2 separate regions of the Homo sapiens genome follow, and region 1 is linked to region 2. Evidence: promoter capture Hi-C in 16 types of primary human blood cells and fetal thymus (Javierre and others, 2016). All regions are on one chromosome and are shown on one strand. The core of a region is centred on a gene start or on the middle of the fragment in contact, and the rest is flanking DNA. Distances in the headings are between cores, read along the strand shown. Region 1 overlaps LOC124902123 (a long non-coding RNA gene). Region 2 holds the start of SNAPC3 (small nuclear RNA activating complex polypeptide 3).

What was found. Contacts are between HindIII fragments. The CHiCAGO score rates a contact against its expected background, and 5 or more counts as called.
Region 1: a fragment that was not itself captured here is called in contact with the fragment with the promoter of SNAPC3 in region 2 in 1 of 17 cell types (endothelial precursors); the score reaches 5.4 in endothelial precursors.

What each region holds. Positions count from the first base shown.
Region 1 is chr9:15,150,247-15,155,740 of GRCh38, forward strand. It overlaps LOC124902123 (a long non-coding RNA gene), which reads left to right. Exons shown (of 3, transcript XR_007061423.1): 2 at 41-191. Among named protein-coding and RNA genes, the nearest start is that of TTC39B, 150 kb to the right of the region's middle. The HindIII fragment of the contact is 985 bases long and covers 2,821-3,805 here.
Region 2 is chr9:15,420,910-15,426,366 of GRCh38, forward strand. It overlaps SNAPC3 (small nuclear RNA activating complex polypeptide 3), which reads left to right and starts at 1,967. Exons shown (of 9, transcript NM_001039697.2): 1 at 1,967-2,284; 2 at 3,000-3,077. The coding sequence starts at 1,971. RefSeq lists a silencer at 1,694-1,983 and an enhancer at 2,324-2,443. The HindIII fragment of the contact is 2,004 bases long and covers 412-2,415 here.

The DNA of each region.
Region 1 (5,494 bases), core at 2,063-4,562, 270 kb before region 2:
ACTATACCTCCCACTAAATTTTGTGACTTTCCTCATACAGGACTCACCCATTTTTTGTTAAAGAATAACTAGATAATCTAGCCTCTGAGGGGGTGACAGCTGGACTCAACTGATGAGAAGAAGTGAACCAAGCAAAGACTTGAGGGAAGTCAACTCCAGGCACAGCAAAGGATGAGTGCAAAGGCTATGAGGTGAGCCCAGTTGGCAGGAATAGGGAGAAGGTGAGTGTGGCTGGGACAAAGTGATCAAGGAAGAGTAGAAGAAGTTGAAGTTGGACTTAGGCAGGCCCAGATCAAATAGAGACATAGAGGCCACATGATGAGCTTAGACTTTTGCCTTATGCAAATTGAAAGCCATGGGAGACTTTAAAGCAGGCACTGACATGGACTTGCATGAGGGCAACTACCCCTGGTCTAGCTAGGAAGTTGCCCTCTCAATGTGACCATGTGGCTTCCTGACCTGTGGTCAGTGCCAAGACCTAACAGACAGACAGGAACTTGAGACAGCTAGAAGAAGTCAGTCCATAAATACCTGTGAGTGGCTCATCAGGATCACTAACCCCACAAGCCACACACTTATTGTGCTAGAGGCTGGTCCTGAACTCACCAGCACCACCAAAGGGAACTGGAGGTCCCAGAGAAAGGCAACCCTAATTCCCCATCTACCTTCACATGCCTACAAAAAAGCCCACATGATGACTGTAGCCATGAACACTTCTGGAGAGAAAGTAGCAGGCAAATACCCTCCTCCCACCAGCCTGCCCACCCTTCTCCCTCAAAGCTGCTACCAGAAAAAGTGTTGTGGGACGGGCATTTCCAATACCAAGGAAGGTGCCAGGAGTCACCAAACCACCCACAAATCTTAAGGGGATTGCCGTGGCCTCTTAGTCACCCAGCCGGAAGCTGCTATCTTCCTGGCAGGAATTGCCTCCCCCTCTACCCCTGCTATTGTGCCAGATGTTCAGGTTGCCTGAATACGTCTGCCCTGGTGGATTACTTCAGGCACCCCTGCCCAAGAACATTCATGGATGCCACACCTGGAACCTACTTGACCAACACTTCTAATGATTTTGTAAGCACCTAATTTCCTGTATTAAATTCTTTTCTTCTTAAAGTACCTAGAGTGATTTCTGTTGAACACTGACTAATATTCAAATAGCAGCACCAACACTCTGCCATGAGAGATGCAGCATGAGTTTGTGTCCTCAGCAATCTCTATCATCTTCCACTCCGTCTATTCACCTTGCTCTGTGAAACCATTCTGCCCAGCCACTGTCCTGGTGAGGCAACTGCCTCCACTTGCAACCTTCCCCTCTCTATGCTAAGGCCGAGTCCTGTGTTAAACCCATAAGAATCTTTTAGATTTCTTTTCTGTCTATTCTCTGTGGCCCTCCCAGAAGGCAACACAACCTGAGGTCCCCAGCAGAGGCAAGTCCACGAAAGGACTTCTGACACCAGCAATCCACGGGTTCATTCAACACATACTGAAGGTCTATGTTTTGCCAAGGCTGTTTGCAAGAGACCACAAAATTTCTGAAAGTCCCTGCATCAGCAAATGATTGATATAAAGGTAATCCTGCAGGGTACCAAAAGGTAGCCAAATTGTCCTTTCCAATCAACTTTCCATTGACATTTGAAAAAGGAAAAGAGGGTTGGGCACAGTGGCTCACGCCTGTAATCCCAGCACTTTGGGAGGCCATGGTGAGCAGATCATGAAGTTAGGAGTTCGAGACCAGCCTGGCCAACATGGCAAAACTCCGTCTTTACTAGGGATACAAAAATTAGCTCGGCATGGTGGCGGGCACCTGTAATCCCAGCTACTCGGGAGGTTGAGGCAGGAGAATCACTTGAACCCAGGAGGCGGAGGTTGCTCCAGCCTGGGCAACAAGAGCAAGACTCCATCTCAAAAAAAAAAAAGGAAAAGAGGACGTCAGTGTTTTGCCCCTGCTGCAGCATGCCAAGTTGTCTGGAGTACAGCAGAAAGCTTGGCAAAGTGGATTGAAGCACTTGCCTGAGCCTGCTGCTCCTGCAGCTCCAAAACCAAATGGGAGATTTTCAGTGGGGCAGACCCCTCTCATGGACGAACTTCACACAGGTGGAAGACAAGGTGGGAAAGTGGGAAAGCGGGAAAGCTCATTCAATCTTGAAACAATCAGAATATTTCTGCACAAGGCAAAGAGACTTGTCCTTTGTGTGCTGTGTGTGCATACAAGAACACACACACATATATACACTGCCTTGGTAGTCTTGGGGGAAAGCAATCTCTCGTGGTGCCTTGGAACTTCAAGCAAATGCTACCTGGTGCTGTGGATTTTGCCCTTTGGCCAACAGACTGTCTTCTGAATTGGTTCAAGTCTACGTAGGGTTTAGTATACAAAAAAAAAACAAAGATATTTTATTGGTTAAAGTGCAGTGAGTGGAATTTCATTTAATTATTAGTGAAACTGGTTTTTTTAGTACTTTTTTTGTATTGGTCTGCTCCAATAAAGCCTAGCCACTCTACATAAGTGCTCTGACTACCCCCAGTCAGCCTCACTCAGAAGGAGCCTTTCTCTGGCCTTCCCCTGGGGCATCTGGAAACAACAGACTCTGGTCCACGCTATTATATGATCTGCCCAAAGTCCCACCAGCAGCATTGTTATCCCTCCTGAGCAGATGGGGCTGACAGTGCCCACCTCTGAGGTTTGCAGCGTGACAGCCACCCTCCCCAGACAGATCTCCACAATGCAGTTCTTGGCCTTGAAGCATGAGTGCCGGGACCTTAATTCCCTCCTTTTTCCCTTTCCCCACTCAGTCAAAGGGTGGAGGTAAATGGCTATAAAGCTTGTTTTCTTGCACTTATATCTAATAAGCTGGGTTCTCTGAATTAGGCCTACTTAGAAAAGAAGTTTTAGAACTTAGACACCTATGCCCACTGGAAATGCACAGAAAATGTTGCATGAGGGCCTTTCCCCAAACTAAAGAATGGAATGTCCTATTGGCAGACTTTCTACTCTTTTCTTAATATTTCATTTTTGGTATCTGTGTTTCTTCCATTAATTGCCATTTTCATCCTTTTAATTTTGTATAATTGCCTACCATTTAAAACCCTTCCTATTTCAGTAGGTGCCCGGTCATTGATACTCAACATTATTTGAACAATTTGGTATAACAAAACAAATAAAATATACCATAGAGAAGAAAAAAGTGTACATTTGCTTGGAATAACAACAAAAATGACATCCATTGCAATCATCAATCGTCCACATTACACACGAACTGAGGTCTGAACCCAGAGACTTCAGAATGGGATGAAAGGCCTAGGAGGTTCCCAGCTTTCCTTCTATCTATCATTCTCAGCCAGTGAAGACTGAAAGCACGACATACCTTCCTGAGTTTGCCAAGGAAAAGTCCAACAGAATCTCCTTTGGTCATTTGAAATCCTGTTTTAAGGCTAAACAAACGTCCAAGCCACAAACCAGGATAAAGAAGCACAACCTCAATGACTGTCCCAGGTGACAGCTTGGAAGCCCAACCTGAGTTTAATCTCCAGCTCAAATGTGAATTACCTGTGTTGTTTTATTGCAACACATCCAACAAAGATAGGGAACAACGCAGCCTTAGCCTCATCTCCAGGTCCTTCCCAAAAAGGGGCTACTGTCAGAAGAGCTGAAAGTGGCTGGAAAGCTAGAGACTGTTAGCAGCATCCATAAGAGAGTCAACAAAAGGCTGTAACAAGAGGCCAGTTGGTGGCTGGCTGGCTGCTAGAGGCCACGTGGAGGAAGAAATTTGCTGGCCTTGGAATAGGAGTCTTTTCCTTTGGACTAAGCTTTAAAGAGTCTTCCTTTGGAGAGCAGAAGATTGCTCAAATAAAGAAAGAAACCAGCTTTATTAAAAAAAAAAAAAAACAGGTGAGAAAGGAACAAGATGAAATCAAATCTATTATGCTTCCTAAGATTTTGGAAGACTTCCAGGGACCAATGTTAGGGAAAATGAAAATTGAGCATCAAATGTTAATGGAAAAATCACTATCGGGGATGTGGAAAAATAAAGTTAATCTGGAAGGAAAAATGGAACAAATGTTGAATGTGTGGGCTTCCCAGTGGCTTGTATAAGAGCCACGAAAATGGATTTTAAGTATAGAAGATTCTGTTGACCTGGTATTGACTTGTTGCTCCATGACCAAATGGGGGACACAGGGTTTTAGCATCAGTTATTGAGATTTTGTGCTCCCTCAGTCCCCTCATTCGCCCCAACAATATCGCCCAAGAATGATTATCCAGCCAAGGATTATTTTGATAATCAAAATCATGGACACTTACTATTTTTTGTGTGTTTGTGTAAACTAAGTCTAGGGACACAGAGCTCATCTAGGAAGATGAGGAGGAGGGCATCCTAAAGGTACATGGTAGTGCTCCAATCTGCAATACCGTCCCTCCCCGCACCCTCACGCCATCTCACTTTCTGCTTAGACAGCAATAACAGGTGCCTCTCCACCTCGTCCTCCCCATTCCCCGAAAAAAGATTTGTAGAATTTAAGATGTGAAAAGCTGGGAACCACTGCACTAAACCACACTGTATCCAGTACTCCATACACAGATTGCCAAATGGCTGAAGAACAAGGTCTAGCCCTTAAAACGAATGAAGCTGGATGGCTAAAAGAGCATTGCAACAGAAATCTTTGTTCTACAAATGAACTGAACCTACCCAGACGGTCCTAACCATAAGGCCTATGGCATCCTTTCTAAGAGCCACAGTTTTGTTGACAAGGAACACCATGCTGCTATTTTTAAAGGAAGCATTCATCTTTCTGACAGCTAGTCAGTAAGTCACCTTTTGTGGTCAAACTTTGCGTGATTTGGCCTTAGGAAGCTCACCTGGGCGAGAAAGGGTAGGGGAAGAATGTGTCCTTCTTCCTACTGGATAAAAGCTATGCATAAATCTCAGACAAAAATTAGAGAAAAAAAAAGAATCCCCCATGGCGCTAAAATGTCAGAATATACATTTCCTAATAGATTAACAAGTACTATAAATATTTACATGATCTGCTGATATACCTAACTTGTAGGGGGAATATGGGAACAGGGGAAGAAGCAGCCAGATAAATATTAAAGCGTATTTTTAAAATAATTATGCTGTAATCATTTTTTTTTAAATCCATTTTCCTGAAATAAGGGATTCCGTCTCTTTTCGGAGAAGCCATTTAATAGCCAAATTAAAGAGAGGTTAGCTCCATCACTACACCGGTTCCCTTATCACCACTCTAATCTCCATGGTCACCCAGAGTTTGCCAACTAGAATTTTGGATGAATTAAGATTTGCTTATTTAATAATGTAGAGGAGATCAGGAAATAGGTGGTGTCTCAAGACTTTAAATGAACACATGCCTTCAGTCTGGGTTTTAAGAAGTTTTATTGTTATAAGTAACTTCAGACACAGAAATAAAAAGAAAAAAGAGAAATGTTTTTCTCTTTTAATAAAGAAAAATATAAAGCCTCCAACATATTATTAAAATG
Region 2 (5,457 bases), core at 717-3,216:
GGGAATACTGTAATTTTTGATATGTGGTTGGTTGAATTGGAGGATGCAGAACCCACAGATAGGGAGGGCTGACTGTATACTACTGGGCACATGCCCAAGAGAAATGAAAACGTATTTGCACAAAAATGTGTACATGAATGTTCATAGCAACGCCAAAAGGTAAAAACTTTTTGATAAATAAAATGTGGCATATACATACAATGCAATATTATTCAGCCAAAAAAGGAATGAAGTACTGACACATACTACAAAATGGATGAACGTGTTACAGGTGGCAGGTATCCAAGTTACCAGGGCAAATCTGTATGGGTCTGCAGCAACTTCAGTTCTTGCCTCCTCAGAAGAAAGAATTTGACCGAGGGGCAATAAGGCACAAAAAGAGACTGAGGCAAGTTTCAGAGCAGGAGTGGAAGCTTATTTAAAAGGCCTTTAGGAAAGAAAGGAAAGCACGCTCGGAAGAGTCCCAAGCTGTCACTGAGGTCAACTGTGATATTGACCTCGATCCTAGGACTTTACAGGCTGGCTCCTTTCCCATGATTCTTCCCTTAGGGTGGGCTGCCTCCATGCGCAGTGCCCTCCTTACCCTTGGGAAGTGAGCACAGCGCAATATGTATGAAGTTGTATGCGTGCCCATCTGAGGCTTTCTTCCCTTTTCCGATAGAGTCCCCCTGAAAGGTCATACTCCCCGATTTTGTCTCTTAATGCATATGCCCAGGAAGTTGCTTCTCCCTGTCACCTGCATTCAACGAGCACTTTAGTGCAACAGGTGTGGGCCATCAGGAAATGGCCTCTCCCTGGCACCGGCTGCCAATTTATCACTTTTAGAGGCAATGTGATAAATGCCTAAGCATCACCCCACATTCCTAGTGGGTGAGGGAAGAGCCCTCTCCTGCCCTGCTCATGCCTAACTACCTGTAACAAACCTTGTAAACATTAAGCCAGCCACCAAAAGACCATATAATTCCGTTTATATTAAATGTCCAGATTAGTTAAATCTAGAGAGACAAAGTAGGTTCTTGGTTGGCTAGGGCTGGAGGAGTTGGGAGGATCAGGGGTGATAGCTAAAAAGTACAAGTTTCTTCTTTCGAGTGGTAAAAATGCTCTCAAATAGTGGTGATGGTTGCCCAAGCCTGTGAATATACCAAAAATCACTGAACACTTCAAATGGGTGAATTATATGGCATGTGATTACAGTCTAATAAATAAATAGTATGTCCTGCTGTATCCTTCAGGGCCTCTGAGAAATGGAGAGAGCTCCATCTGAAGCCAGACTGAGTTCCGATCCTGCTTCTATTTTCCCCGCAGGTAAATCCTTCCTCAACAGCAACACGGGGTGATACGCCCTATCCGGAAAGGTTGTTGTAATTTTTAAAAACATTAAAAACATACATTAGGGTTAATCATGTAGCGTGTGATACACAGACGCTCTGAAACACTACTGCACACGCACACCAACATGGGGCCTCTGCGGAGCTTGTGAAAGAACCAGATCTGGAGGGCTGGTCGTGTCCCTGGTCTCGGCCCTCGCCCTCCTTGTTTCTTAGGCTCTAAAGCAATCAGGCAGCAGAGCAGTCCTTGAACCCCAGTCAAGAAAAAGCCCTGCACCCCTTAGTCCGAAAGCCGCAAGGAACGGGGCCTAAGCGCCTGGCGAGGCCGCCCTACCGGGCAGAGACAGTTGCTACGTAACTCGGGGACCAGAAACCCAGCCCCACCCGCTGCGGTTAACCGACAGCCGCAACGGTTCCCGCACCGCCCGGGTCGGAGAACAATGCTGCGCCCTGCACGTAGAGCCTCGCGGTGCCGCGCCCTGGGGCGGGCCTGCCCATGGCCTGCCGGGAAATGTAGTTTCTGATGCCCTGCCCGCGCCGCCTCGCCGCTCGCCGGCCGGGCGCCCCAAGCAACTACAACTTCCATCACGCTCTGCGAGGCCTTGATCTGCAGGCTTTTGCAGGGGAAGGAGTGGGGCGAACATGGCTGAAGGAAGCCGAGGTGGCCCTACGTGTAGCGGGGTGGGTGGCAGGCAGGACCCAGTCTCCGGCAGTGGCGGCTGCAACTTTCCAGAGTATGAGCTTCCCGAGCTAAATACGCGCGCTTTCCATGTGGGCGCCTTTGGGGAGCTGTGGCGGGGCCGTCTGCGCGGGGCCGGGGACTTGTCGCTGAGGGAGCCGCCGGCATCCGCTCTGCCTGGGAGCCAGGCAGCTGACTCCGACCGGGAGGATGCCGCGGTGGCCAGGGATCTGGACTGCAGCCTGGAGGCGGCGGCTGAGCTGAGGGCGGTGTGCGGGTGAGTGCGGAGCAAAGGGGCTCTTGCAGCTTGGGGTCAAACAGGGTGCAGCCTTGCTCGTGCGCTCCTCTGGGACTCATCCCTGAGAAGGGCCTGTGGTTTAGACCTGGGCTAGGAGTATTACCCTTTAAAGCTTTCAACCCGCTGGAGCCTTCCTGGGACACCAGGAGAAGTCCTGGGACCCGAATGCACAGTTTCTACGAGTTGGAGCAAAGGGACAAGACAGCTGCATCAAAGACTAGTTTTTCCATTTGCTTATTCTAAGAGTGCTTGTTAATAAAGAAAAGCAATCAGGGCAACAGCGACGTGTACCTGCCATTGACAGACACTTTGACAATGGAGGAACCTGAGTAATGGTGAAGCTGCGGGAGACTTCATCAGAGGAGTGTTAAAACCCCGACTAACTGGTTTCTTTTGGGGACCTTCCGGGTATTCTGTTACTGAAATATTTCTTAAAAGTGCCTTATTTGGGGATGAAAATATAAAAATAACTTTAATCTCTTTCTCCATTTAACAGTACTGGCTGCCTTCATCGGCCTTTTCATTATAAAATATAATCACAGAAATCGTTGTCTTAAGTTCTGGCCTCTCTGAGCCGCCTGCTGGATTTTATCTGACTTCGTAATTCAGTAATGTATTTAGGAAAACAACCCTAACTCGCTGTGAACCAGATGCAGAGTCGACCTTAAAGTATTGCTTTTCCTTTTTGTTTTAGCCTTGATAAACTGAAATGCCTTGAGGACGGTGAGGATCCAGAAGTCATTCCGGAGAATACTGACCTGGTGACTTTGGGGTATGGAGGACTTGGTTTTTATGACCTATTTATTTAAACATTTTTTCAACATTATGTTTTGAAAAGTTGAAAGTGCAGTATTGATTGTTGTCTGTATACCCACCCCTTAAATTCAGCTGTTCTTAATATTTGACCATATTTACTTTAGCCGTGTGTATGGGATGCCTGCTGTGTGTTTTTTCATTTTGCTATCCCCCATTCAGTAAGTTAGACATGATAATTTACCCGTAAATACATAAGCATATAGCTTCTAAAAGTATCATTCTCCTACATAATTATTGTGGTATTATTATACCTAAGAAAACCGTAAATACATAATCTATAATATTCAGTCCATATTCAAACTTGTGTTTATTTTTTAATATTTTTGAATGTTTGTTTATAGAGGTAATCTACTTAGATCTGGGGGGCAACCTAAATACTCTGACAGTGTTTTTCAAACTATTTGTGGTAAAGGACAGTTCTTGTTTTTAAAAATTTTTAATCTTTGACAGATTTATGCTTTGATAAAATACTATAAAAAGAATTACTAGAAAAATGGAATTAAAAAAGACAAACACAATATAAGTTCAAATTTTTAATTAAATTCAATAGACAAAATTATTCAATGATAATGGAAGTTTCTAAATGCTTACTGTCATTTTCTGTACAGATTGGTTAACAAATAGGTCATAGATGAATTCTGGTCTGCCTACCACTCTTTGAGAGGCACTGTTGTATGATAATATAGAGAAATTGTGCATGTAATAGTGAAATTTATAATTTCCAATTTATAGTCCACTTATTTCATACTACCTCAGCTATGTTCTGTCGTTCTTGATCCTACGCTATTATCCCCCTCAAATATTCAGGCAGTCATTTCAACTCTACTTGGGTTTTCTTTCATAATAACTGCTAAATCTGTTCCCCTGGTCCCTACTGCTGACTTTTACAGCAGCAACACCTGGAGCACTGTGCAAGGTTCTTAAGTGTCTTTGATAAGTACAGTCATTTCTCCCACTGATTTATCCATCATGCTGTCGCCTGAGCAAGCCATTTTGCTTAAAAATGGTCTATGGCCCTACATCTCCTATATGGAAAAATTTCAAACTCCTTAGCTAGACATTTGAAGCCTTCCACATATATCCCAAATTTGCCTTTCCAGATTTATTTTCAACCACTTTCTCTTTCAGATGGCTCAGGATGCATGTGGCCTCTCTCCCATCTGAAACATACCACTTCTATGTTATGTTATGTTACGTTATTTTTTTGAGATGCAGTCTCACTCTGTTGCCCAGGCTGGAGTGCAGTGGCGTGATCTCTGCTCACTGCAACTTCTGCCTCCGGGTTCAAGCGATTCTCCTGCCTCAGCCTCCGGAGTAGCTGGGATTACCGGTGCCTGCACCCTCGGCTGCCTAACTTTTTTGCATTTTTTGTAGAGACGGGTTTCACCATGTTGGCCAGGCTGGTTTCAACTCCTGACCTCATGTGATCTGCCCAACTCGTTCTCCCAAAGTGCTAGGATTACATGCGTGAGCCGCCACACCTTGCCCATACCACTTTTTTAAAAGCCCAAAGATTCCTTTCCAGATTACCACAACCCATCTTTCCCTTAGGAAACAGATGCATTTATACTGCCTTAAACTCTTAACATTTCTAAAGTCCTTGAAGGCTCAATGAGAGTCCAAACTCCCATCTGTGTATTGTTCTCAAGCCTACTATACTGCCTTGCTCCAATTGGTGCTCTGTAACTATTGTTGATTGATTAGTTGTATTTGTCTAAAATGCACATCTGATTGTCACTCCCTTGCCTAAAACCTTTTGATGTCCCTTAGGCTGAAGTCCTGAGTCTGTAGTGGCTCACAAAGGCCTCTAAGGAGTGGACCTTGCTGTTTTCATTTTGTTTTGTTTTTGAGATGGAATTTCACTCTTGTTGCCCAGGCCTGAGTGCAATGGTGCGATCCCGGCTCACGGCAACCTCCGCCTCCTAGGTTCAAGTGATTCTCCTGCCTCAGCCTCCCAAGTAGCTGGGATTACAGGCATGTGCCACCACGCTTAATTTTGTATTTTTAGTAGGGACGGAGTTTCTCCATGTTGGTCAGGCTCCATGTTGGCCAACCTCTCGTGATCCACCCACCTCGGCCTCCCAAAGTGTTGGGATTACAGATATGAGCCACCGCACCTGGCCCGACCTTGCTGATTTTTTTTAAGCTTTCTCTCTGCAGTGTTCCAGCCACACTGCACTGTGTTTCAGTTCCTCGAATATGCTCTCTCACTCCAGGCCTTTGCCCAGAACAGTCATTCTTGCTTATCTCCTGACCTTGTTGACTTCTACTCATCCTGCAAGTCTTAGCTAAAGGACTACGGACTCCATTTAGGTCATCTTGTATGCTCATGTAGC